Linked DNA regions of Homo sapiens: regions 1, 3, 4, 5, 6 and 7 are each linked to region 2. The links are contacts of gene promoters, found by promoter capture Hi-C in blood cells and fetal thymus (Javierre and others, 2016). All regions are on one chromosome and are shown on one strand. Each heading gives the region's core, a stretch centred on a gene start or on the middle of the fragment in contact. The rest is flanking DNA. Distances are from core to core; before and after follow the strand shown.

The links. Contacts are between HindIII fragments. The CHiCAGO score rates a contact against its expected background, and 5 or more counts as called.
Region 1: a contact is called between a fragment that was not itself captured here and the fragment with the promoter of NIPSNAP3A in region 2, in 12 of 17 cell types (M0 macrophages, monocytes, M2 macrophages and 9 more). The highest score is 27.7, in M0 macrophages.
Region 3: a contact is called between a fragment that was not itself captured here and the fragment with the promoter of NIPSNAP3A in region 2, in 11 of 17 cell types (total CD4 T cells, non-activated CD4 T cells, total CD8 T cells and 8 more). The highest score is 21.0, in total CD4 T cells.
Region 4: a contact is called between the fragment with the promoter of TMEM246-AS1 here and the fragment with the promoter of NIPSNAP3A in region 2, in 5 of 17 cell types (total CD4 T cells, M0 macrophages, naive CD4 T cells and 2 more). The highest score is 8.8, in total CD4 T cells.
Region 5: a contact is called between a fragment that was not itself captured here and the fragment with the promoter of NIPSNAP3A in region 2, in 14 of 17 cell types (total CD4 T cells, activated CD4 T cells, naive CD8 T cells and 11 more). The highest score is 34.4, in total CD4 T cells.
Region 6: a contact is called between a fragment that was not itself captured here and the fragment with the promoter of NIPSNAP3A in region 2, in 4 of 17 cell types (non-activated CD4 T cells, total B cells, naive CD8 T cells and 1 more). The highest score is 8.7, in non-activated CD4 T cells.
Region 7: a fragment that was not itself captured here is called in contact with the fragment with the promoter of NIPSNAP3A in region 2 in 2 of 17 cell types (naive CD8 T cells and total CD8 T cells); the score reaches 6.8 in naive CD8 T cells.

The regions. Positions count from the first base shown.
Region 1 is chr9:101,577,750-101,581,579 of GRCh38, reverse strand. It overlaps GRIN3A (glutamate ionotropic receptor NMDA type subunit 3A), which reads left to right. Exons shown (of 9, transcript NM_133445.3): 7 at 2,220-2,384; 8 at 3,736-3,812. Among named protein-coding and RNA genes, the nearest start is that of PPP3R2, 15 kb to the left of the region's middle. The HindIII fragment of the contact is 3,086 bases long and covers 1-2,842 here.
Region 2 is chr9:104,745,838-104,749,457 of GRCh38, reverse strand. NIPSNAP3A (nipsnap homolog 3A) reads right to left here and starts at 1,775. Exons shown (of 6, transcript NM_015469.3): 1 at 1,606-1,775. The coding sequence starts at 1,665. LOC107987105 (a long non-coding RNA gene) reads left to right here and starts at 1,819. Exons shown (of 5, transcript XR_007061705.1): 1 at 1,819-2,009. RefSeq lists an enhancer at 1,212-1,371 and a silencer at 1,792-1,881. The HindIII fragment of the contact is 7,745 bases long and covers 1-3,620 here.
Region 3 is chr9:101,560,837-101,564,588 of GRCh38, reverse strand. It overlaps RNF20 (ring finger protein 20), which reads right to left. Exons shown (of 20, transcript NM_019592.7): 17 at 3,663-3,752; 18 at 3,359-3,499; 19 at 2,578-2,679; 20 at 1,245-2,343. The coding sequence ends at 2,167. Among named protein-coding and RNA genes, the nearest start is that of RNF20, 29 kb to the right of the region's middle. The HindIII fragment of the contact is 1,266 bases long and covers 1,275-2,540 here.
Region 4 is chr9:101,466,903-101,470,655 of GRCh38, reverse strand. TMEM246-AS1 (TMEM246 antisense RNA 1) reads right to left here and starts at 2,217. Exons shown (of 3, transcript NR_121576.1): 1 at 2,048-2,217. The HindIII fragment of the contact is 1,016 bases long and covers 1,208-2,223 here.
Region 5 is chr9:101,543,293-101,547,047 of GRCh38, reverse strand. It overlaps RNF20 (ring finger protein 20), which reads right to left. Exons shown (of 20, transcript NM_019592.7): 6 at 2,163-2,281; 7 at 82-228. Among named protein-coding and RNA genes, the nearest start is that of RNF20, 11 kb to the right of the region's middle. The HindIII fragment of the contact is 3,124 bases long and covers 1-2,833 here.
Region 6 is chr9:101,450,159-101,453,875 of GRCh38, reverse strand. The region is part of intron 2 of LOC105376184 (a long non-coding RNA gene); the gene reads right to left. Among named protein-coding and RNA genes, the nearest start is that of ALDOB, 16 kb to the right of the region's middle. The HindIII fragment of the contact is 6,251 bases long and covers 1-3,717 here.
Region 7 is chr9:101,518,682-101,522,384 of GRCh38, reverse strand. It overlaps a transcript of PGAP4 not described here. Among named protein-coding and RNA genes, the nearest start is that of RNF20, 13 kb to the left of the region's middle. The HindIII fragment of the contact is 5,520 bases long and covers 1-3,703 here.

The DNA.
Region 1 (3,830 bases), core at 50-2,549, 3.2 Mb after region 2:
ATCTTGTTGCTTGTCCTCCACAGGGGACAAATGATGTGTCCTCCCATGGTGAAAGGCTGGAAGGGCAACAAAAGGGACTAGCTAGCTTCCTCAAGCCCTTTTATAAGGGCACTCATCCCTTCATAAGGGCTCTTAATACCAACCCTTGGAGTTTAGGTTTAAACATATGAGTTTGAGAGGGACATATACATTCAAACTATGGCACTATTCATGCCTTGTATACTTTTCCTTCAGCCACAGCAGTCAGTTTCACAACACTATACCACTGTCCAGGAAAGTCATGTCTTTTTTCCTTTGTTTATGCTACCCTCAGGTTAGTATGTTCACTTTCCCCACCCAACCTCCCCATCCTGCCTGTCTTATTCAAATGTTATCTCATGAACCAGCTTCCCCACAAATCCCAGGAAGCATGGATCAAATGTATCATGGAGGTATATGTTTGTTTTCTCCCTAGACTCAAGCTGTTTAAAAGGAAAGATATAACTTCCTTCTATCTCTATCCCATGATACGCAGAAGAGTGCCTGGCACCTAGTATTAACTCAATATATTATGTATTTTTACTTCTACGGGATTGACTCTTGTCATTGATGTCAATGGCTAAATAATGGCTGTTTTAGAGTACATGTGAGGGTTTTCTTAATCTACACAAATCACTTAGCAAAGTGCTGGCCACAGATATTTATTGTAACTACTATTGTTGCTATAACTGCTGCTGTTTTGGTATATAGCAGTAGAGCAGAAAGAGCCCAGGCTTTGGAGCTGAACAGAAATGGACTGAAAGACCAACTTTGCCACTTAAAAGTTGCAGTAACTCCACTTTCCTTAGTTATAAAATAGACGTTATATATCTATTTTAATGTAAAACACTTGGCAGAAAGTAAGCAACCAATAAATATCATTAAGTTCCTTCTCTTTCTCTTCTATGCCTTTTTTGTGGCTTGGCTCGGTTTACTACACTTCTCTGGTCTCACTTTCCTCCTCTGTAAATGAACTAGATGATTTCCATGTTCCCTACCAGATCCAAATTCCAAAGTTACTGAACTCACCATCTTTTTCCCCTTAAATCTACTCATTCTCTTCCCTGAGGGACGTTCTTTCCTTGACAGCTACCAGGTATATTAAATTGTTTCAATTCTCTATCTCTATCTCTCTCAATCTCTAAGAGACCATAAGGTGGTCCAGACCCAGGGCCTTGGCACAACTCCAGGGGCCATTTGCACAGTGGATTAACATACGAATAGCGCCTGTCAACTGAAGAATCATGAGCTTCATAAATTTGGCCAGGAGATCTTTAGTTCTCATAAAGGGTTGCAGCCAGCAGGCCAGCCATCCTGCAGAATGGGAAGCATAGCCTCAGCAGAAGCTGAGAGCAAGCACTTCAAGGGAGGGGTAAAAGGGAACAGGAATTTATGCTGAGTGGGGTGGCTGAGTATACGTATTGAGTAAGCTATAGGAGGAGTCATAAATATTTATGAAAAGAGATACATGCACATGTGCAGTTGAGCTTCATGCCTCTTCCTGGGCCCATGTTCAAAAAATGGTGGTGTTAGCATGACCCGAGGGTGGAGATTTTGGTCTTCTGATGTCCAAATGTGAAGCAGAGGACATGAAAACCCTCACTATGCATCCCCCACAAGTTGGCCAAAACCATCTGGAGATTGTGGTCATTTTTTAGGAAGGGTGCATTGGGAAACTGGTGAGCTGTCACACTGAAACTGCAAAGAGGGAGGGAGAATCTGGTTATGGCCTTAGATGATTAGCTAAAGGTGATAAAGCAATGAGTTATCGGTTTCTTGTTTTCCAGAGCTAGCTTTTGCTTACTTCTTAAGAATGAATTATGGCTAAAGGTTAATAAGGAAGGGACAACTGAGGCATGACAGACCTCCCATCCAATCAAGGCCAGGAACTCAGTTTTTAAGGTTTCTTCGGGGTCCCCATGGACAAGAGAAAGTTCGTTCAGTCGGTTGGAGAGCTTTTAATTTTATTTTTATTTCTCACCCTCTAGGCATTGGGTGCTCCTCGGCAGCCCTCAGTCCAACCCTGGCTGAATTTCTTTCATGATGTATAATGAAGGTCACAGAACACACAGGGAGAAATAGTCTCCAGCTGTCCTTGAGTCCAGAAAAAATGAATATCCATCTGAAAACCAAAGAGTACACAAGCATTGGGCCAGGTATATCATTGTATTCATGGCCTTTTCTTTCCTATTCTGTCACAGACTTTGCAAATGGGCATCAAACACTTCTCTGGGCTCTTTGTGCTGCTGTGCATTGGATTTGGTCTGTCCATTTTGACCACCATTGGTGAGCACATAGTATACAGGCTGCTGCTACCACGAATCAAAAACAAATCCAAGCTGCAATACTGGCTCCACACCAGCCAGGTGAGTGCCACAGGTGTCTTGCTCCAATATTCTTAAACTGTACAATTCCTAGGGATGGGAGGATCCAGAGCCCTATGTCAGACTACTAAGTTATGTTACCACAATAACGAGGGTGGGGTAGGCACTCTCATTAGAGCAGAAGGAATTCTCTCTATCCCATTAATTCACTTTTCCCTTAAATTAAGGCATCCCACAGTGCTCCTTCCTTTCCTATAACCCTCCACTGTTGTTCATAATAGAAGAAATAGAACTTTTTTAACCAGGTTTCACTTAATAGTGACAGTCTGAAAAGATGGTGTGAAAGATTTATTTCCTAGGTTCTTTTCTTGCCAAAATTGAAACCTATTACGTGAGTTTAAAGTCCCTGGTCCCCTTTAAGTGACCCCACTTGCCCCTGTTCTCTCTGCTTTTTCCCTGGTCCAGAGGGGTTTGAGACCCATTGGGGCCAAGGCCAAGCTTCACAAGGCCGCAGTTCTCTCCTGTTACCTAGACATCAACGCACTGATTTACAGGGAGAACTGAAACTGTCAAGCAGACTGGTGACTCAAGCACACTCGTTTGCATATCTCTCCCTGAATGAAATTGGCATGGAGACCCAAAATATAGTCAGAAGGCTTCATAATGATGGAAGAACTCTAACAAAGGGAGTGGTTTCACTTGACCACAGCAAGGCTGGATGAGCCATCCTGGCCTCTCCTGTGGTGAGACCACCTCCTGCCCTCCAGTGTACCATGGATTACCTCCCAGCAGGGAGGCTGTCACTTCTGCATTTACCCTATTCATGTATTCATATACCCTCATACTAAACTCCTCACTTTGGTAACACTTTTTTTTTTTCTAGATAGGTTACTATCATTGGTTTGGTTACAGTTGAACCCTGTTCTTCCTACTTTTATCCTGGGAAGTATTTGGTCTTCTAGGAGAACTCCACAGATCTTCCTTATTGTATGCTAATATGATTAACTTAATTCTCAAGAGTCCTCCTTCCCTTCTTTGTTTTGGTTGTCAATTAATTATATACTTTTTACTCATCTTTAGCAATTATGGAAGGCCTTTTGCTACACATTAGTTATGATTGTGCCTCCTTATATCACATACCGTTTTATAATACTGAGCTTTCCATCAGAACACTTTTTTGTTTCTCCAGGTGGAATAATAACCTCTAATTAGAATTTTTGTTCTGTTGAGATTTGAGGCTGAATGTTGATCTATTTTTAGGCATTTCTGGAATTTGTTTAAAGAGGCCAAGGTTTGTAACGACTACATATACTGTTACATCTCAAGTGGTTCTTTGTTCCCTGACCTATGTGTTTCTCATAATTTCTACCTGTGAATCTGTTTTCTCCATCAGAGATTACACAGAGCAATAAATACATCATTTATAGAGGAAAAGCAGCAGCATTTCAAGACCAAACGTGTGGAAAAGAGGTAAGAAGGGGCCAATGG
Region 2 (3,620 bases), core at 526-3,025:
TTTTGCTCCGACATATTTTTGTTTACAAAATACAAAATTATGTAACTGTGTATGATAAGGCTTAATGATAATTATCTAGAGTTAATTCTATTCGTGTGTGACTTATATTCTTATTGCTCAAATGACTAAGCCTACCAACAAAAACAGCTGCAGCTGCCCCTGCCTTTTGTGGACACTCTTTTTGTGCTTTTAAACCAAACTCTAGTAACAATGTTGGTCAAGAAGCAAGTGCCTAGTATCCATAATTTCAAAATTATTATAATAAAATATATCAGGAGATAGGCCAATGGGGCATTTGTGACAAATGGATTTCAGGTTGATTCGAGGAATTTGTATTTGGAGGATAAAATAGTTGATCAAAGGTACACATTTTTACAATTTTGGGCAGTATTAATATACAGTAGGGAACCTACAGTGAGAGAGGGAGAGAGATGTGGACAGGTGGTGCCAGAGAAGGAAGACTGCAGGGGAGCCGGGTATGGTGGGGGAGCCGGATGGGAGTTAAGAATTTTGTTGCAGGGATGACTTTTAGCTGCTAGGGCAGAAATCATGAGTCGTCCATCCTCCCTTATCTCCAAGTTAGGGATCATTCCCACCAGCAACGACCTCCACTTCACTTAAAAGAGAACAACTGATGGACATTTCTAAAAACTTAAAGTTTGGAATCATGCCATAAGGACGTCATTCCTGGCCCTGCCCCACTGGAGAATCATTAGGGTAAAAACTGCATTGTTAACCCGGGGTGAATGGACATGAGCTGCTCTTCTTTAGTGCTCCTCAGTCTGTCTCTAGGACAGGTTAATCCCCTTCCCATCCTGCCCCTTCAGAAAGGAGTAAAGTCCTAAACATCAAAAGGAAAAGAAATTTCTAGGTTGAAGCCACAGAATAGGCCACTCCCGAAAGTTAGGGCAGAATCACAAGCTCCATTTTGTCCATTTCTCATCTAAGGTTAAAAGAGTCTGTCTGTCATCGTCCGGTTTGATAGGAGGCTCCGGTCCCGCCTGGTTGGGGGAGCGACCACACGAAGCGCGGGTGGCGGGCAGGGTCCAGCCCCACCGGGACCCTGGGCCTCCTCTTCAAGGGTCTCCGCGAAATGCTCGGAAGTTGTGTGCTTCATTTAAAAGGGGGAGGCCGGTTCCGTGGCAAGCGGCTGGTTGACAATTCCCTCCTTCAACCTGATGTCTAGAGAGGGCGGTGGCTTGGAAAGCTACGACTCCACCCGCGGCTCCACAGCGCCAGGTGACAACATGGGAGCGCTCGCTGGGCCGCAGCCGCGACATAGCTGGGCAGCAAAAACGAAACAGCCGGCGCCATGGGAGTGTCCCGGTGGGTGTGGCATCCAGGCTAGAAAAGCCTTCTGACCACCACTGCCCGCGAGACGACCCCGGCTGGGGGTATTCCCCTAGCAGCGGCCTCCTCCTCACGCGCGTTCCGGGTACCCCTGTCTTGGGGTTCCGGGGCTCACGCTAGAACCTCACCGGGGCCCCAGGTCTGGGCGCGCGTGGCGGAGAGCGCATGCGCATTGCTCGCACGTACCCGGAACACTCCCCGCCCCGCCCCTCCCCTCCCGTCGGGTGAAGGCTTGGGTACCCCCGTGGCCGGTACCTGAGGCGCCAGCGTCCGTGAGGCCAGCGCCCGAGTCAGGGCGCTTCTGAGGACGAGCATGGCGCGGCTTCGGCGCTGAGAAAAGCAGCCAGCCGTGTCCTTTCTGAGACTCCTCTGAAGGTTTCCCGAGTGGAAAGGAGCGGCTCCTGGATCATTGGCAGACGCAGGCTGGGGCGGGGCTCGGCGGGGTCAGCTCCACCCCGGCGCGGGAGGCGCGGCGGGTCCCGTAGCTTGGTGTCTTTCTCTGCTGTGCTGAGCGTTGGTTCCCCCTTGGTTTCCTGAAACGTTCTTACCCCAAACGTTAGAGGTGACGTTAGGATTAACTGAAGGCTCGGATCGTTCCTGCTTCAACTTTCTGGGCCCTCACTCACCTCATTCGCTCCAGTGCTCAGTTGTGTAGATTGGTAAATGTGCAGGGGTTGTGGGTGTGTTGACCATGGGGAAAGAAGGAGAGGTGTTGAGTGCGTGCATGTGCAGTGCTTTGTATTTAAAATCGTGGAGGTTTTTTCCGAGTTAAGTTTTAGATGTTGTGATAGACGTGTATTTGAGCCTGACCTCTCTGCAATGAATGTGTTCTCCATCTTAGAAGGCTCCTAATTAAGATTTAGATTAAATTTTCCACGAGCTCAGAGAAATGGCAGCATCGAGCCTGAAATGAAAAAGTCAAAGTTAAACATACCCTGGTCTAGTCCTCCCAGTCCGGGAGTGTTGGTTCCCAGAGTAACCACCTTCAACATTTCAAGCTGTTTCATTTAATGCTTGTTTCTGTATTTTTAAGTAAGTAGTGTTTTCTGCTGTTTATTGCATTTTCAGTTATGGATAGTATGTGTTGACTTCCTTCTGTGGCAGATGAGGATTTATGTCTCATAGATGCCACTGCCCCCAAATTCACTTGTCTTCCTGCATCTAATAATGCTTATGTTAATTTACAGTAATTAATTACACTATTAATTTACAGTAATCTATATTAATGTTTACATTATTCTTGCTAATAATTACATTATTGTAAACATTAATGTAATATTGCTTACATCATGAGGACTAGGGAGGGATTGCAGGGCCATGACCTGGGTTGTATTGGTTGTGCCTTGTGGAAGAGCTTTGGAATTGTCTGTTCAAAGGAAGGGAGACTTTTTAAAATTAGTTATTTCGGAAGGGTTGCCTCAGTTTTTCTAGAAGAGAGACATCTATTTGTAACCATGCAAGACTAAAAAAATCATTTGTATCAGGACTGGATCTATATGAGTAAATTATTTTCTTAGACCTTTTTTTTTAAACCCTGTAATTGCCAATCCATTTACTTATTCAACAGATATTTACTAAATTCCTTCCATGTTCCAGGCACTTTTCCAGAAACTGGGGTACAGAATTGAGCAAAATTCAAAGTCCCGTCCTCTTGGAACATCCAGGATGGAGGAAACAGATAAAAAAAGGAAGAGTAAATATATCAGGGATTGTCAAATAATATAAAGAAAAATAAAGTAAGATACGAATAAAGGTGCTAGTGGAATTCTAAAAGTGGTCAGGATTCTAGCTATTGACTTGGATATTTAGGATTTAGGTTTCTTCATACCACTCCCTCAAAATACACTTTCCTTCCTGCGTTTATTGATGTTTACATTAAAAATATATTTTGGAGTGAGAAAAACATGTTAAAAGCACTGTAAGCACAGGTGAATCTCTTCAAATAGTGGGCTTCACTGTGAGGTGATCTGACCTGGGTATTTCACTGAAGGCTGTATCCCCTCCCCCCAAACTGTTATCTGCAAGTTATTTATCTGTGTAGTCAGTGTTAGGGAAGGGAAACTTCCAGTATCTTATCTGTGTGAGAAAAGCCTTGCTGCCAGTTTCCTGAGGCTGAGGAGGGAAGAAGGCCAGAACACTCAGCATTTGGTAGTATCTTTCAATAATATATTAATTAGGGTAGATTAAATAGCTCTTGTAAATCAACACTCAAAAAAGTGTATTATTACTCAAACACTATAGGAGTTTATTTTTTATAAGAATACAAAGTG
Region 3 (3,752 bases), core at 658-3,157, 3.2 Mb after region 2:
CTCCCTGCTCATCTCAACTAGAGGAACTTCCTCTAAATCCAACTTCCCATGGGGCTAGTGGTTTCCTCCACAACATTCCACAGGCCCTATGGTCCCCTGGTGCTGGGCAGCTGGCTTTCTCAGCCAATTGTCACAAACAGCCAACAGCCAAGCCCAAACCACCTGTTGACCAAGCAGTATATCTGCACCCAACCAACAAAGTTATGCTCAAGCTTACCCTATAAGAAGAGCAAGAAGCAAGGGGAAAGTGTCCTATTACTAAATGAAAACTCACTGTGTCCAGAAGCAGGAGCTAATCCTGTCATGATGGTTCTGTGGGGGTGGGGGTGTTTGCTGAGCAGGGGGATCAAGGGACCCATGACCTCTCTTGATGACCTAGTAAGATTCTTCAATTAGACTCATTGCTTAATTCATACCACATGACTTTGTGGAATTCAGTGCAAATCCTGCTGATTATAGCTGGTGACCACAGAAAGACACAGAATTTGCTCTTACCTGTCTTCTAGGACAGGTGGTGATCAAGAAGGATCCATTTTACACAACCCCTTGCCAGAGATTTATGAAACCTCTGGTTTGCTGGTTATTATAAAACATAATGCAGCTGGGCATGGTGGCTCACACCTGTAATCAAAACACTTTGGGAGGCCAAGGAAGGTGGATCACCTGAAGTCAGGAGTTTGAGACCAGCCTGGCCAACATGGTAAAACCCCATCTCTGCTAAAAATACAAAAATTAGCTGGACATGGTGGTGAGCACCTGTAATCCCAGCTATTCGGGAGGCTGAGGCAGGAGAATTGCTTGGACCCAGGAGGCGGAGGTGGCAGTAAGCCAAGATTGTGCCACTGCACTCCAGCCTGGGCGACAAGAGCAAAACTCCATCTCAAAAAAAAAAAAAAAAAACCCACCACATAATGCAAGAACTCTCACCCTAAAGCTAGAGGCAGCAATATGCTCCCCCAAAAAACAAATTATAGTCTCTTACCCCACCTAATGAACTATGAAAGATAACTGAGTAGTCAAATAAATTAATCTTTTAGGTATAATTTCTCCATAGAATAGACTCAATAAAAGAATTGGGAGAAAAGTGCTTCAATTAAGCAAAGATCTAAATACTCTAAACAAGGCCAACCTCTTAACCTAAGCTGATTATTTCCATGCAAGAAAATTTAATTCTATAACAGCAGATATAAAATCAACTTGTAATAATAAAGACAAAAGTTTCAAAGAAAAACCATAAACACAAATGCAAACTGAATCCTGCTTTAATTCAAGCTTGTGGAGAACAAAGTCCTACAGAAACATTCCACAGAATTTTCTGGAAAAGAGGGATCACAACAACCCTGTAAAAAGGAGACTGAGAGTAATTCATAGCTCACCAAGTTCTCTCCGTATCAAATTTCCAGAATACCCACAAGATTTCTTCACCAGCTCAGTCCTGACTCAACCTCTTCAATCTTTATTTCATTAGAAGACAAAGGGTCATATTATTTAAAATTATTCTAGTCTCAAGAAATTTAAAGACTTGAAGTAGTAGAGCATTCAAAACTTAAATAACTTTAACAAGAAAGCCAGCTGATCTTAACAAGTTACTCTGCTAGTAAATGGGAAATAGACTGAATCATCCTAGACATAATTTCATTAGGGCTGCAAACCACCCAGGGGAGAGTAGCACAATTATACCATTTTGTAATCCACATTCACAAGAAGTTTGCTACACAAATGAAGAAAACTTTGTGCCCATAGACAACTTATTTTTTAAAATATCACTCCCCAAAAGTAGCCATGTTTCCACTTTTGTTCCCTTTTCCACATCAAAAATACCAACTTGATTTCTTCAGGAGGAATGGACAATCCAAGTTTATACAGTGGGCTGGAAAAAGAAAACACTGAAAAGTCTAAAAGCACAAAATAAACAAAGCTGGGAGGGAAGACAGTAAGAGTTATTTGTTTCTAATTCATTCTGAAACCCAAGGCTTGTATTTACCAGTCCTTTCTGCTAAAGTCATCCAGCTACTGAAGAGGAGAGCCTGGAAGTAAAGTCTGGAGGAAAGGTAGTTGACTGATAAACTGTCCTACAGGTGACAGTCAAGGAGAGAAGAGGTAGAGGTTTGGTGGTTAATGAATAAGTTCCTGACTAGCCAGCTCCTCTTCTTCTCTTGACTTAGATCAACCAATGTAGATGCGATGAAAATCATTGGCACCAAAAGCAGCATTACACTTGGGACATTTGCGCTGGCGGGTGTCATAGCGTGTCTTCACACACTCAAAGCAGAAGACATGAAAACACTTAGTAAGAACAGCATCCTTTTTACGCATGTTACAGCACGGACAGGTCAAGCGTGCCTAAAAAGAAAAGATGTCAGAGTTTGAACAACCATGAAAGTTTATGATCCAAATGGCTCTCATATACTACACAACCAAGAAGAAAACCCACAAGGCACTAAAAAAAGAGCATCATTTCCCCCCAACCTCCAAAATAAACCATTCTCTGGTTACTATCATGCAAATTATTCTCCCAGTCTATTAGGCCACTTAAAGCTTTGACAAAAAACTAATCACTAAGGCATTTTTTCTAACCTTGTAATCCTTAATCTCTTCCATCAGAATCTCATCACACTTGGGTACATTGTCTGGTTTCTTTGTGGTCTCCAGCTTCCTGCGAAGTCTAGAGATGTCCTCCTGTGGCAGGATAGCATACCCATTAGACACACTTACCCAAATCTATCATTTTTGAGAAAAATAATAGACTTGAGTTTTCTGTTGTGAAAAGAGGGGACTTTCTATCCTTTTATGGTCAATTATCTTGTAGAAATGTAGAGAACTGCAAATGGCAGGATATTTTCTTTTGTTTCAGAAGAGGCAACCATAATTATATCCCCAAATTAGAATTGCATCTATTACCAATTCAGTCCTGTGAAAACACATCTAAGAGTTTAGAGGACAGTCTATTTTGTTTTATAGTAATTAGTTTTAAGCTGAAGGTAGAACGGTTTAAAATAATTCAGAGACTTACGGATAAAGACAGAAAGACATCATGAGAAACAGCTAGCATGACAAAAATAGAGACATTATACAAGAACTTGAAAATCCTCTACTGCTGCTATGCTGTTACTTCTTTAACAATTTACTAATTCATTAATTTAACAAATATTTATTTTGTGCCTACTAGGTGCAAGGCACCATAAAAGAGTCTGAGGATATGGCAGTGAAGAAAACAGACTTACTCTCTTCCCTCAACAAACTTCCTCAAGTCTAGTAGGAAATGACATACATTGGACTAATGATTCTTTCATGATATGGGTCACTTCCGACCTCAGAAAACACCTAAAAGGTGACAAGAAAAGACAACTGCTTTTACCTGGGCTCGTTTGAAATTGAACATGTCCTTTTCTTTGGTAACACTGTTCTCCACGATCTCATCCTGAAAATCATGTAGCTTCTTCTGAGCCAACTCCAGTTGTGCTTTGAGGTCATCTGCAAGCTGGGCTGCCTCCATTGCCTATGTAGGATGTACAAATAAGTGACACCATTGTATCACCTATTATTGCCAGTGAGGCAAAATGTTAGCCCAAGTTGAAGGAATAAAGCGAACTTACAATCTCAACAGTGTTATACTTATTTGTTCCACTGAGACTAACCATCATTAGATTAATCAATCATACCTTGCGTTTATTCATCTCTAAGGCTTGGGTCCTAAGACCCAGCTCTTTCTCCCCTGTGCCAATGTTGCTCTGTAACAGATGCTCCTTCTC
Region 4 (3,753 bases), core at 968-3,467, 3.3 Mb after region 2:
CAGGAATGTGTTTGTGCAATGCCTCTTGTCCTTCTCAACCATACCCTTCTCCAGCCCCAGTGTATCCAGAATCCATGGCCAATTTGAGTTCAGCAAAAATTTGGCTTCCATTTAGCTCCCCCTCCAAATAAGTTTATAAAAGAGGAGGCAGGATTTCATCTCCTTTCTGGATTGTACACATAGAATACATCTAAATTTTTAAGCTATATATTGTAAAAAATGGTGTGTGTCTGTATCACATTCAAAATCTAGTTCATGTATTATTCTGCAAGGAAATACATCAAACAAATTAATCATGAGTAAACCTAAATTTAGCAGTTTATCCTTATCTTAATGAATACCTAAATCCTGTTTGTGATATTGACTCAAACGACTCAAGCTTTCTCCTTTTTAATCTCGTTGAACCTTTAGCTGAAACGCCCCAATCTGCAGAAACACATTTCCATGTTTGAATCAGGAAAGGCTTGGAAGAGATTAGAATGACATTATATTTCATTTTACCAGTTAATACCACAGGAAGAACTATTTCAGCCAAACTAACCCTTTCTTGTCACACTTAAACATTAACCTCAACCCTAAGGTAGACACATACTAAAATTCAGAATTGCATCCCTGGAGGCCTTTAGGACAAATTAATTTTTGTTCTGTAAAAGGCACCACGTGTCATGTTTCATATCAATTTACATTTATTGAGTGCCTACTGAGTGACAGGTGCTGTGCTCAGTGCTGGAGACTCAAAGGTGAGTGAATAAGACATGCTTTCTTCCTTTCAGAACCATGGCCCCCAGTGAGGGAGTTAGCAACATGATGTAAGTCCTGAGATGGGAGGATCACACAGTGCTGTCTGTAAATTGCCCCAAAGCACTGAGACTCTAAGTTATCCCAACTTCCTTAACTTCTCTGCAACCTCTTTTGCTGAGGACAACATGATCCAACAAAAATGTCTCCTACTAACAAAGAGAATGTTTGACACAAACACTTATTTTCAGAAACAATTGTTTCCCAAAGCACTTGGCTTGTCCAAAGATGACTTACCTTGTTGGCAGCCCCTTGCCATACCTGTCTCAAAAAACAAATCAAGCTGAACCCAGTTTCATTGTCCACCCCTCCTTGCTGACAGAAGCTTGCTGATCTGCAAATGGAGAGAGGACTGGGAAGGTCACAACTTGTCCTTGCTCCCTCAAGGTAAGTGTCATCCCTTAAAGCTTGCCTGCTGCCTCATTGCCTTTCCCAAGTCTTGTGCCAAGTTGGTGCTTCTCATATCATAACTTCACTATAGCTGATTGCGAGTTGGATCTGGTCTCCTGGAGTTCCTCTCACAGAATGACTAGAGCTCACCCATCACATGATGTGAGAGTGCCCTTCTTTGAACCCTGAAGAGTTTTTAACCGAAGACCACATATTTCTTCCACCTGTTCTTGTCAGTGTTTCCATAGGGAACCACAGGCCTGAAAAGACACATTCCTTACTTTTAAAAATTAATTTGTTTAGACAACCCACACTGGTATTGGTCAGAGTCCTCAGACTGGCTCTGAGGATAGCTGACTAAGCTGCTGCTCCAAAATGCTGGAATATGTCATAATTCACAACCATTGTTCATAACTGTTTGACTACCCTAAACCTTACCTTCAAGGATTCTCTTATCTGAATGAACTAAGCAGAATAAACCGAACAATAAGAGTAGGGCTTGAAATCCAATTCTTAACTAATTAGAAAGCATGTATGGGCTAAGAGTTTCTTACCCCTTGCCAGGAGGGAAATGGGGAAATTTGATTTATATGTGAAAATTCTGCTTTTCAGCTTTCACTTGCCAAAGATAGGACAACTCAAATGAAAAGAAAAAATGGTGTTATCCATTTATTTTCCCAAAAGAGATGTTTGCAATGCTTTTTTACATTCTCTTCATACATGGGCAGAGTTTGTGCTGTAAATTTTGCAAGTTGGTTTCAGTGCAAGAGACAGTTACAGCATTAGGATGCATTCAGTGGCAAGTAACAGAATCTAGTCTCCCAGGGGCTTAAGCAATGATGACATTTAATTTTCTCACCTGGCAAGAGGTCTGGAGAAGGCAGTTGCAGCAGTGCAATGAAGTCATCTAGGACCCAGATTCTGTCTGCTCTTCTGTTCTGCCATCTTTTGCCACCTCAGCTACTGCAGCTTCAAATATCGTGTCCTCACAGAGCTGCATTCAATGGGAGTAGGAAGGGGCTGGGATAAAAAGCTTTCTCTTGTAAAGTTCTTTTGTTGTTGTTTTGTTTGTTTCCCTCCTTCCAGGAAGAGCAGTTTCAGGAAGTCTCCCAGCAGACCTCTCCTTTTGCTTCATAGGGCCAGAAATAGGCCACATGCCCACTCCTAGACCAATCACAGGCAAAGGAAAACAGAACAAGCCCAGTTGCAATTAATTCTCTTGGGGCTTGGATAGGGGCCCATCTTCTATGATCTCACTGGCTCCCTACCCACCATCTAAACAAGATGGGGCTTTTGTTGGCTAGGAAGAAGAGGCACATAGATAGCTCTTGGGTAAAATGTGAACAGCAACTGCCCTGTTGCTGGGGGAAGTGATCAAGATTTTTAATATCCTTTCTGCTCATGCCATTTTATTTAGAAATTGAAGTAACATGGAGATTTATTTTAATATAGTCATATAGTTAAGTTAGGCACATTACTGAAAATATATTCTAGCTGCTACAAGATTAATTGTTTGAAGATATCAAAGGGCTTTGAGAGGCATAGCTTCTTAGATTCCTGGCGGCCCATTAGATTGCATTTTCTTTCTCATACGATAGGACATCTGAACAGCTGAACATGAAACATCATGGAAACAATAAGATCATTGTTGCTACTTTCAAGGAAATACAGATAATCAAATTCAGATTGGACATGGGATTGACCAGATAGCAACGGAAGCTTGTGCTTATTTTCAACCTATTGTGGAATTGTCTTGAATTGATGATTTGGGGCCCATGAAGAGCTTTTTATTTTTTTGAAAATAAATTCACAATTTTAGAAAGTAGTCATATGGATTTTGATGTATAGTATAAACCATGCTGTAAATTTCTGAAGCTCTTTTTGGCATGCAAATGTTAATACATCTGCATCAGAAAGTATTTTCCTGTCTGTATTCAGTTTCAAGAAGAAAAACCATGATAATGAAATTAAATTATTTTCTCCAAAAAAACACAGTATCCCAGAAAAGATATAGGGGGGTCTGACATGAATCCCAGGAGATCCTGAAATTTCTAGAGATTTGAGCAATGTGTGACCCTTTACTCTTCAAGAAAGGAATAAGGATGAAGACAGGAACTAAAATCATTCCTGCCAACTAGAAACAGAATTGTGACCTCTCCCTAATGAAATCGATCCCACAGCTCAGTTAGCACCTAAAGACACCATGTGTCGCCAGTCTTTGGATGTAAGCAGTCATGTTAAGATTAAATAATGCAGAGTTTCCTTTGTTGATAACACTCTTTCTCAAGCCCCAAAAGTCCTACTAAATATTTCTGGGAGTCTGCAAAAAGCTACCTTACATGTATGTATGCACAAAGAAGTCTGCTAGCTGCAGTCATTACAGAGCATCGATTTTATCTTTCCTTTCCTGTTCTGGCTCCACACTGCCTTGCAAAGTAACTGGAAAGGCCTCTCTTTTACCCCCACTTATAGTAGCTATTTTGAAACCACCAGTGCCTATGCCAGGGGTACTATTTTTTAATGCTTCCCCAAATATCAGTTCTCCAGGCTGTGGTAGACTGGTGC
Region 5 (3,755 bases), core at 22-2,521, 3.2 Mb after region 2:
AAATACCATGCCCCAAGGTGAGTCTTCCTGAGAACACTCCTTAAAATGATTCTAGTCTCCAAGCCATAAAACAGCACTGACCCGTTCTAGGACTTCTGCTAAGTGTCGGTTGAGTCGCTGTTCCCTCTTTCGAATTTTGTCAATATCCCACTGCAGGTCATCAATCATGGACTCCAGGACAGACACTCGTGATTCGGCTGTCTCCACTTTACTCTGCAACTTGGAGAACTACATCCCAAAGACAAACATTCAGAAACATATAGCAAAAAAAGACCAAATTCCATAATATTAACCCTTGCTTATGAGTAATTATAGAAAAGAGGCAAATAGAAGATGCTTCACCCTCTTCCCAATGCATGATTACAAAAATGAAATCACGGATTCCTCCAACAATTCTGTGTCAGTTATAATCATGCAAACTTTAAGTCTAAAGTCTATAAGAACTCTCACACAAAGAAAAGACCACCTAAGATTCAACAATTTTTCTACCTCTGAAAAGCACCATTTCTCTGGACAGACCACAAACTCATAAAAATTTTGTAATTTTTTAAGAGATAATAAATAGTATCTTTTGTTTTGTAAGATAAATATTTTTTCAAAAAAACCATTTTTACCCCCAAATTTCTCTCCACAGTCCCACAAAAGGTAATCCATTCATTCACAACAAAAGAAAACTTCCATACTCTTTTTTAAGCTCACCCCAGAGCAATCTAGAGTCAGATACAATACAGTATAGATTATACTATAATCTAAAGTCAGATACTCTATTTAGGAGCTATACACCAGCTAACACTATTTAGTATTTTAACTACTAAACTATTACAAGTTCACATTAATCTATATATACCCTTTGTGCTAGGTTTTAAAACATGACACAAAAATCCTTTGAAAGTCCTCTGAACAAGAGGTGGGATCTTTGTTCCCTCCTCTTGAATCTGGGTCAACTTTAGAGACCCAATGGAAATGTCACTACACAATTTTGAGGCTATATCAGAAAGGCCATGAAGGTTCTACCTGGTGATCTTGGGATGCTCACTGGAAGAAGTCAGCCAACATGTAAAAATTCCAACCATCCTGAGACTACCATGATGGAGAGGCAAACTGCAGGTATCCCAGTAGACAATTAACCCAGCTGACAGGCAGCATCAACAGCCAGCCATGAGAGCCAACAAGGACATCACAGTTTAGCAAACAACTGCCCTCCAGGTTAGTAATACTATCTGAGATTTGTCAAAGGGCTAGAAAAGGAAGACCTCTCCATCTTGGTAGCACCTAGTCAATGTCTTAAAACATGATAAAAATATTCTATTTTCTTACTAGACTCCAGTTTATTTATAAGGGCTACTACATTCTAACCCCTTTGAAGGTCCAGGATAATCCATATGAATTAATAAATTCCCCAGATGATATTCATGCAACCAGGCCAGCATGGACCTTAACACTGGGGTTTAGTAAACAAAGGCATATGAAGAACAAGAGCTTTGAAGTCAAACAGACCTACAGTCACAACACAGCTCAATCACTTTCTAGCTATGTGCCCTCAGAATAATCACTAACCTCTTTGAATTTGTTTCTTTGGCAATAAAATGGGAGTTGTTTTGCCATTAGAGATAACATTCATAAAGTGCTTAAATTCTAGGCACTAAGTAAATGGCAACTACTAAATTACTAATTAGCATAAGAATTCAGTGGCCAAACTAAGGTGGGGCAAATTCCAGTAGAATATATTTTGAACTAAATCAAAATGATCATCAGAAGTATCAGAAAAGTCATTTAAGGCCTATCATCACTTTATCTTGATCATTTTGTGTAAATAAATAAATGTCCAAATCTTGGCATGGTTTAATCATGGCATTATTTGCACCCAAGTTTAGACTGAAAATTGACATTCCTCAAATTCCTAGGACATCATCAATACAGTAGTTTCTACTTCCCCATTCCCTGTGGAATTTCTACCACGCCATTCCTCAATAACACTATACAGTCTTTTATATTTAGGGTAATTCATTATTTGGAGGTTTGGAGTTGTGTTGTGTTTTACAAAATCCCCTATGATATGATAGGCCTTCTAGAGTAAGGTAATCTTTGAGGTGCTCAGAATTGTAAGTCAACATCTGCCACAGCCCACTAGACACAGCCATCTCTCCTTTTTGGTTAAGTACCTCCTGAGACATGGTGCGATGCTTTTCCTGAAGAAGATCTGTCAATTCCTGTAGCCTCATATTCTCCTGTGCGAGGAAAGAGTTCAGCTCCTGCACTGCTTCCTCCACTATCAGATTATCTGGGGAAGAAGAACTATACTTTAATTTAGCATCTAGAGTGTCATTTTTTTTTTTTTTTTAAGACGGAGTCTTGCTCTATCGCCCAGGCTGGAGTACAGTGGCGCGATCTCGGCTCACTGCAACCTCTGCCTCCAGGGTTCGAGCCGATTCTCCTGCCTCAGCCTCCAGAGTAGCTGGGATTACAGGCACATGCCACCACACCCGGATGATTTTTGTATTTTTAGTAGAGATGGGGTTTCACCATGTCGGACAGGCTGGTCTCAAACTCCTGACCTCAGGTGATCCACCCACCTCAGCCTCCCAAAGTGCTGGGATTACAGGTGTGAGCCACCGTGCCTGGCCTATAGTGTCAAATTTTAAAACTGTGTATCCTTGGCCAGGTATAGCAGCTCACGCTGTAATCCTAGCACCTTGGGAAGCCAAGGCAGGCCGATCACTTGAGGCCAGGAGTTCAAGACCAGCCTGAATAACAAAGCAAGAATCATATGCTCTTATCACATATTCTCATATCATATATTCTGAAATACTATGTTAGGGGCACTTCTGAAGCTTAAAAACCAAAATGTACACTACTATTTACAAAGCAGGTAGGTAAATCCATAGAACTTATTACACCAAGTTCGTATGTTTAAAATTAGAGTTGCAAATACTATAGCTGAAATCCAAATGTAATTAAATGAAACCAGATACTCTCAGGATATATACCACCCATCAAAGAGAGTTATCAGGAAGAAAAATATGCTTTCTCATATCACCTCTTGGCATTACTCTTAGTATCAATACAGAACAGGTTGGTCATATGGTGGTTTTCATGGTTTTCAAGCTAGGCTTGCCCATCAGAATCACTTGTGGAACTTTTAAAATAGACATTTCCCTAGGACCTATCTCATACCTACTTAATAAGAACCTCCATGGGCAAAGCCAAAAATAAGAATATGCTCAGAAAACTCCCAAGGTTATTCTGATTCATAACCTGAGTTAAGAAGTAGAGACTGAATTTTAGTCCTCTCAATATCCTAAGCACTGAGGACAGGGCTAGAATACAATAAAATTCAATAAATGTTTAGTGAATTTATAAACAAGCCCATAAATGCAATTCTTTTGAATCAAAGACCAAACAAACAGACAGTACTGCCCTGGCAGGTTAGACAGTGCCGCCCTGGCAGGGTTAGACAGTGCCGCTCTGGCAGGTTAGACAGTGCCGCCCTGGCAGGTTAGACAGTTCCGCTCTGGCAGGGTTGGACAGTACTGCAGTGGCAGGGTTAGACAGTGCCACCCTGGCAGGGTTAGACAGTGCTGCCTTGGCAGGTTAGACAGTGCCGCCCTGGCAGAGTTAGACAGTGCCGCTCTGGCAGGTTAGACAGTGCCGCTCTGGCAGGTTAGACAGTGCCGCCCTGGCAGGGTTAGACAGTGCCGCCCTGGAAGGGTTAGACAGTGCCGCCCTGGAAGGGTTAGACAGTGCCGCCCTGGCAC
Region 6 (3,717 bases), core at 997-3,496, 3.3 Mb after region 2:
AAGACTAGTTATTCATTTACAATGAGGTATAATAGTGACATAAACTGTATGTGTGTGTGTGTATATATGTGTGTGTGAGTGTGTGTGTGTGTATTAGTCCATTTTCACACTGCTGATAAAGACATACCCCAAACTGGGCAATTTACAGAAGAAAGAGGTTTATTGGACTTATATTTCTACATGGCTGGGGAGGCCTCACAATTATGGCAGAAGGTAAAAGGATGTCTCACATGGCAGCAGACAAGAGAAGAAAGAACTTGTGCAGAGAAATTCCCCTTTTTAAACTATCAGATCTTGTGAGACTTATTCACTGTCACAAGAACAGCATGCGAAAGACTTGCCCCCATGATTCAATTACCTCCTAACAGGTCCCTCCCACAACACATGGAAATTCAAGATGAGATTTGGGTGGGGATGCAGCCAAACCATATCATTCCACCCTGACCCCTCCCAAGTCTCATGTCCTCACATTTCAAAACCAATCATGCCTTCCCAACAGTCCTCCAAAGTCTTAACTCACTTCAGCATTAACTCAAAAGTCCATAGTTCAAAGTCTCATCTGAAACAAGGCAAATCTCTTCTGCCTATGAGCCTGTAAAATCAAAAGCAAGTTAGTTACTTCCTAGATACAATGGGGATACAGGCATTGGGTACATACAGCCATTCCAAACTGGCCAAAACATTGGGGCTACAGGCCCCATGCAAGTCCGAAATCCAGCAGGTCAGTCAAATCTTAAAGCTCCAAAATGATCTCCTTTGACTTCATGTCTCACATCTGGGTCAAACTAATGTAAGAGATGAGTTCCCATGGTCTTGGGCAACTCTGCCCCTGTAGCTTTGCAGGGTACAGCCTCCCTCCTGGCTGCCTTCATTGGCTGATGTTGAATGTCTGCAGTTTTTCCAGGCGCACTGTGCAAGCTGTCAGTGGATCTACCATTATGGGGTCTGGAGGATGGTGGCCCTTTCTCACAGCTCCACTTGAGCTGTCCAGTAGGGACTCTGTATGGGGACTCTGACCCCACATTTCCCTTCTGCACTGCCCTAGCAGAGGTTCTCCATGAGGGCCCCACCCCTGCCACAAACTTCTGCCTGGGCATCCAGGCATTTCTATACATCTTTTGAAATCTAGGCAGAGGTTCCCAAACCCCAATTCTTCACTTCTATGCACCTGCAGGCTCAACACCACATGGAAACTGCCAAGGCTTGTGGCTTCCAAAGTCTGAGGCAACAGCCCAAGCTGTACATTGTCCCCTTTTAGCCATGGATGGAGTGGCTAGAATGCAGGGTACCAAGTCCCTAGGCTGCACAGGGCAGGGGGGACCTGGACCCAGCCAATGAAACCAACTTTTCTTCCTAGGCCTCCCGACCTGTGATGGGAGGGGCTGCCGTGAAGACCTCTGACATGCCCTTGAGACATTTCCCCTTTGTCTTGGTGATTAACATTTGGCTCCTTGTTACTTATGCAAATTTCTGCAGCTGGCTTGAATTTCTCCTCAGAAAATGGGATTTTCTTTTCTATCACATTATCAGGCTGCAAATTTTCTGAACCTCTATGCCCTGTTTCCCTTTTAAAACCGAATGCCTTTAACATTACCCTAGTCACCTCTTGCATGCTTTGCTGCTTATAAATTTCTTCTGCCAGATACCCTAAATCATCTCTCTCAAGTTCAAAGTTCCATGAATCTCTAGGGCAGGGGAAAAATGCTGCTAGTCACTTTGCTAAAACATAACAAGAGTCACCTTTGCTCCAGTTCTCAAAAAGTTCTTCATGTCCATCTGAGACCACCTTAGCCTGGATTTCATTGTCCATATCATTACCAGCATTTTTGTCAAAGCCATTCGACAAGTCTCTAGGGAGTTCCACACTTTCCCACATTTTCTTGTCTTTTCTGCGCCCTCCAAAGTGTTCCAATCTCTGCCTGTTACCCAGTTCCAAAGTCATTTCCACATTTTCAGGTATGTTTTCAGCAGCGCCCCACTCTACTGGTATCAATTTACTGTATTAGTTCATTTTCACACTGCTGATAAAGACATACCCGAGACTGGGTAATTTATACAAGAAAGCGGTTTAATGGACTTACAGTTCCACGTGGCTGGAGACGCCTCACAATCATGGCAGAAGGCAAGGAGGAGCAAGTCACATCTTACATGGATGGCAGAAGGCAAACAGAGAGCTTGTGCAGGAAAACTGCCCCTTAGATAACCATCAGATATCATGAGACTTATTTGCACTATGAGAGCAGCATGGGAAAGACCTGCCCCCATGATTCAATTATCTCCCATCAGGTCCTTCCCACTTGTGGGAATTCAAGAGGAGATTTGGGGGGGGACACAGCCAAAACATATCTGTGTGTGTGTGTGTGTGTATATCTATGTACATATATATATCATCTCATGTATATGATATATAGAGATGATAATACAGCTTGGCCAAGGAAATTTCAGTCCAGCAAAAAGATAGATGGTTTTATTCTTAAGGAATTTTCCAAGAGGATTTTTTGAGAAAAGCAGCCAGAGTGAGACAACAACTACATTTCTTAGAGGGTCTTAAGTTCTCTCTGTAAAGAATTACAGACAAATGGAGGCATAGAGTTTCCATGTCCTCCAGCTGTTTTCAGGAGCCCTGGTGCAGCTTGTGAGCAGAAATACTAGTGTTGGCTTCAATTTCCTGTGGAAAAGAGATGTGATGTGGCACAGGGAAGGAGTACCGAAAATAATCTGTTCTAAAGACTTATCTGGGTGACCTTTGGAAGAGACGAAAGGGAGGGCGTGAGATAGTGAGAGACTCTGGAGTATTTATGGAGTGAAAAATCAAAGAAAAGTGGGTATAAAGAAGTGTTACTCTGTTTATGAATCTGATCTTTGTTAACGTCCCTTGAGAAACACAAATATGCTTTTAAATTATTTTTTCATTACTTTGATTACATGACTTTGCATGTGTTCATGGCAGGACTGAATTCCATGGGACCTTGGTTTATAATCAAGTAATATTCCAAGGATACAAATGATATAAAGTAATTAATGATATCAAAATCTTCATATTAGCAGTGAAAAACAAAAAAATTATTTGTAATGGCCCCAAAGACTTTGATAATACTCAACATCTGTTCTTTTTTTTTCTTTTTGACAGATAAAACATTTAAAATATATATAGCCACTGAAAAAAAATTATTAAGTACCCTTAAGACGGCAGTCTTCAAGCTGGGAGTGGTGGCCTGAGCCTGTAGTCCTAGCTACTCCAGAGCCTGATGCAAGAGGGTCACTCACAGGAGTTTGGGGCTGTAGTGCACAATGACTGTGTTTGTGAACAGCCACTGTACTCCAACCTGAGCAACATAGCAAGCCCCCATCTCTAAAAAAAAAAAAAACCAAAACAAAACAAAAACAAAAAAACCTGCATTCTTCTCAAAAATAATTTTGAGAGACCATATACACTTTCGCATTGTAAATGAGTATCTATGTTCTATTATAAATGTAAATAATTCCAAAGGATGTCATATCCAGTATGTTTTAACATTGGTGACCCTTTTAAGTACAAATCATGGAATCTTAAACAAGATAATGATTAAATACCCATTAAAGAAAATTACATGTTAAAGTTCAGAACATTTACATTATTCGGTTCCATATCCCTCACAGAACTTTATGTAAATGTAATATATTTTTAGGCTTGGAAGTTTTATTGATAACCATATCATACTTCTCCGCAACAAACTA
Region 7 (3,703 bases), core at 592-3,091, 3.2 Mb after region 2:
ATTTATAAAACAATTACTAATAGACCTAAGAAATGAAACACACAGCAACATAATAATAGTAGGGGACTTCAATACTCCACTGACAGCACTAGACAGGTCATCAAGACAGAAAGTCAACAAAGAAACAATGGATTTAAACTATACCTAGGAACAAATGGACTTAAAAGATATATACAGAACATTTCATCCAACAATCGGAGAATATGCATTCTATTCAACAGTGCATGGAACTTTCTCCAAGACAGACTATATGATAGACCATAAAATGAGCCCCAGTAAATTTAAGAAAATTGAAATTATATCAAGCACTCTCTTGGACCACAGTGGAATAAAACTGAACATCGACTCCAAAAGGAACCTTTGAAACAATGCAAATACATGGAAATTAAATTACCTGCCCCTGAATGAGCATTGGGTCAAAAATGAAATCAAGATGGAAATTTAAAAATTATTTGAAATGAAGGACAATAATGACACAATCTATCAAAACCTCTGGGATCCAGCAAAGGCAATGGTAAGGGGAAATTTCATAGCCCTAAATACCTACATCAAAAAGATCAAAAGAGTGCAAACAGACACTCTGAGGTCATACCTCAAGGAACTAAGAAACAAGAACAAACCAAACCCAAACCCAGCAGAAGAAAGGAAATAACCAAGATCAGAGTAGAACTAAATGAAATTGAAACAAACAAACAAAAAATACAAAAGATAAATGAAACAAAAAGCTAGTTCTTTGAAAGATAAATAAAATTGATAGACCATTGGCAAGAATAACCAAGAAATGAAGAGAAGATCCAAATAACCTCACTCAGAAATGAAACAGGAGATATTACAACTGACACCACTGAAATACAAAAGATCATTCAAGGCTACTATGAACACCTTTATGCACATAAACTGGAAAACCTAGAAAAGATGGGTAGATTCCTGGAAAAATACAGCCCTCCTAGCTTAAATCAGAAAGAATTAGAAACCCTGAACAGACCAATAACAAGCAGCAAGATTGAAATGGTAATATAAAAATCACCAACAAAAAAAAGTCCAGGACCACATGGATTCACAGCAGAATTCTACCAGGCATTCAAAGAATTGGCACCAATCCTTTTGACACTATTCCACAAGATAAAGAAGGAACCTCCCCTAATTCATTTTATGAAGCCAGCATCACCCTAATACCAAAACTAGGAAAGGACACAACCAAAAAAGAAAACTACAGACTGATATCCTTGATGAATACAGACACTAAAATCCTTCACAAAATAGTAGCTAACCCAATCCAACAACGTATCAAAAAGATAATCCACCATGATCAAATGGGTTTCATACCAGGGATGCAGGGATGGTTTAACATGCAGAAGTCAATAAATGTGATACACAACATAAACAGAATTAAAAACAAAAATCACATGATCATCTCAATAGATGCAAAAAAAGTATTCAACAAAATCCAGGATCCCTTTATGACCAAAACCCTAAGCAAAATCAGCACACAAGGGACATACCTTAATGTAATAAAAGCCGTCTGTGACAAACTCACAGCCAACATAATACTGAATGGGGAAAAGTTGAAAGCATTCCCTCTGAGAACTGGAAAATGTCAAGGATGCCCACTCTCACCACTCCTCTTCAACATAGTACTGGAAGTCCTAGCCAGAGAAATCAGACACGAGAAAGAAATAAGGGGCATCCAAATCGGTAAAGAGGAAGTCAAACTGTCACTGTTTGCTGACGATATGATCATTTACCTTGAAAACCCTAAGGACTTCTCCAGAAAGCTCCTAGAACTGATAAAGGAATTCAGCAAAGTTTCTGGATACAACATTAATGTACACAAATAAGTAGCTCTTCTATACACCAACAGTGACCAAGTGGAGAATCACATCAAGGACTCAACCACTTTTACAATAGCTGCAAAAATAAAAATAAAATAAAATACTTAGAAATATACTTAACCAAGGATCCAAAGACCTCTACAAGGAAAATTATAAAACACTGCTGAAAGAAATCATAGATGACATGAACAAATGGAAACACATCCTATGCTCATGTGGATAGAATCAATATTGTGAAAGTGGCCATACTGTCAAAAGCAATCTAACAATTCAATGCAATCCTTATCAAAATAACACCATCATTCTTCACAGAATTAGAAAAACACAATTCTAAAATTCATATGGAACCAAAAAGGAGCTTGTATAGCCAAAGCAAGACTAAGTAAAAAGAACAAATCTGGAGGCATCACACTACCTGATTTCAAACTATAAGGCCATAGTCACCAAAACAGCACGGCACTGGTACAAAAATAGGCACATAGACCAGTGGAACAGAATAAAGAATCCAGAAATAAAGCCAAATACAGTCAACTTATCTTCAACAAAGCAAACAAAACATAAAAGCAGGGAAAGGACACTCTATTCAACAAATGGTGCTGGGATAATTGGCTAGCCACATGTAGGAGAATGAAACTGGATCCTCATCTCTCACCTCATACAAAATCAACCCAAGATGGATTAAGCTCTTAAACCTAAGACCTGAAACCATAAAAATTCTAGAAGATAACATTGGAAAAACCCTTCTAGACATTGGCTTAAGGAAGGATTTCATGACCAAGAACCCAAAAGCAAATGCAATAAAAACAAAGATAAATAGCTGGGACCTAAACTTATAATTTTATATATATATGTGTGTGTCTGTGTGTGTATATATATGTATGTGTGTATATATATATGTATGTATATATATACATACATATACATATATATAGTAAATAATAAATTAAAGAGCTTTTGCACAGCAAAAGGAACAGTCAGCAAAGTAAGCAGACCACCCACAGAGTGGGAGAAAATCTTCACAATCTGTACTTCTGACAAAGGATATCCAGAATCTACAACGAACTCAAACAAATCAGTAAGAAACAAACAAACATGGCCAGGAATGGTGGCACATGCCTGTAATCCTAGCACTTTGGGAGGGGGAGGCAGGTGGATTGCCTGAGCTCAAGAGTTCAAGACCAGCCTGGGCAACACAGTGAAACCCCGTCTCGACTAACATACAAAAAAATTAGCTGGGCATGGCAGTGTGCACCTGTAATCCCAGCTACTCAGGAGGCTGAGGCAGGAGAATCGCTTGAACCCAGGAGGTGGAGGTTGCAGTGAGCGGAGATTGCACCATTGCACTCCAGCCTGGGTGACAGAGCAAGACTCCATCTAAAAACAAAACAAAACAAAACCAAACAAAAGTGGGCCAAGGACATGAATAGGCAATTCTCAAAAGAAGATATACAAATGGCCAATAAACATATGAAAAAGTGTTCACATCACTAATGATCAGGGAAATGCAAATCAAAACCACAATGTGATACCACCTCACTCCTGCAAGAATGGCCATAATCAAAAAATCAAAAAAACAGTAGATGTTGACGTGGATGTAGTGAACAGGGAACACTTCTACACTGCTGGTGGGAATGTAAACTAGTACAGCCACTGTGGAAAACAGTGTGGAGATTCCTTAAAGAACTAAAAGTAGAACTACTATTTGATCCAGCAATCCCATTACTGGGTATCTACTCAGAGGAAAAGAAGTCATATGAAAAAGATACTTGCACACGCATGTTTATAGCAGCACAATTCACAATTGAAAAATTGTGGAACCAACCCAAATGCCCATCAATCAATGAGTGGATAAATAAATTATGGTATGTATA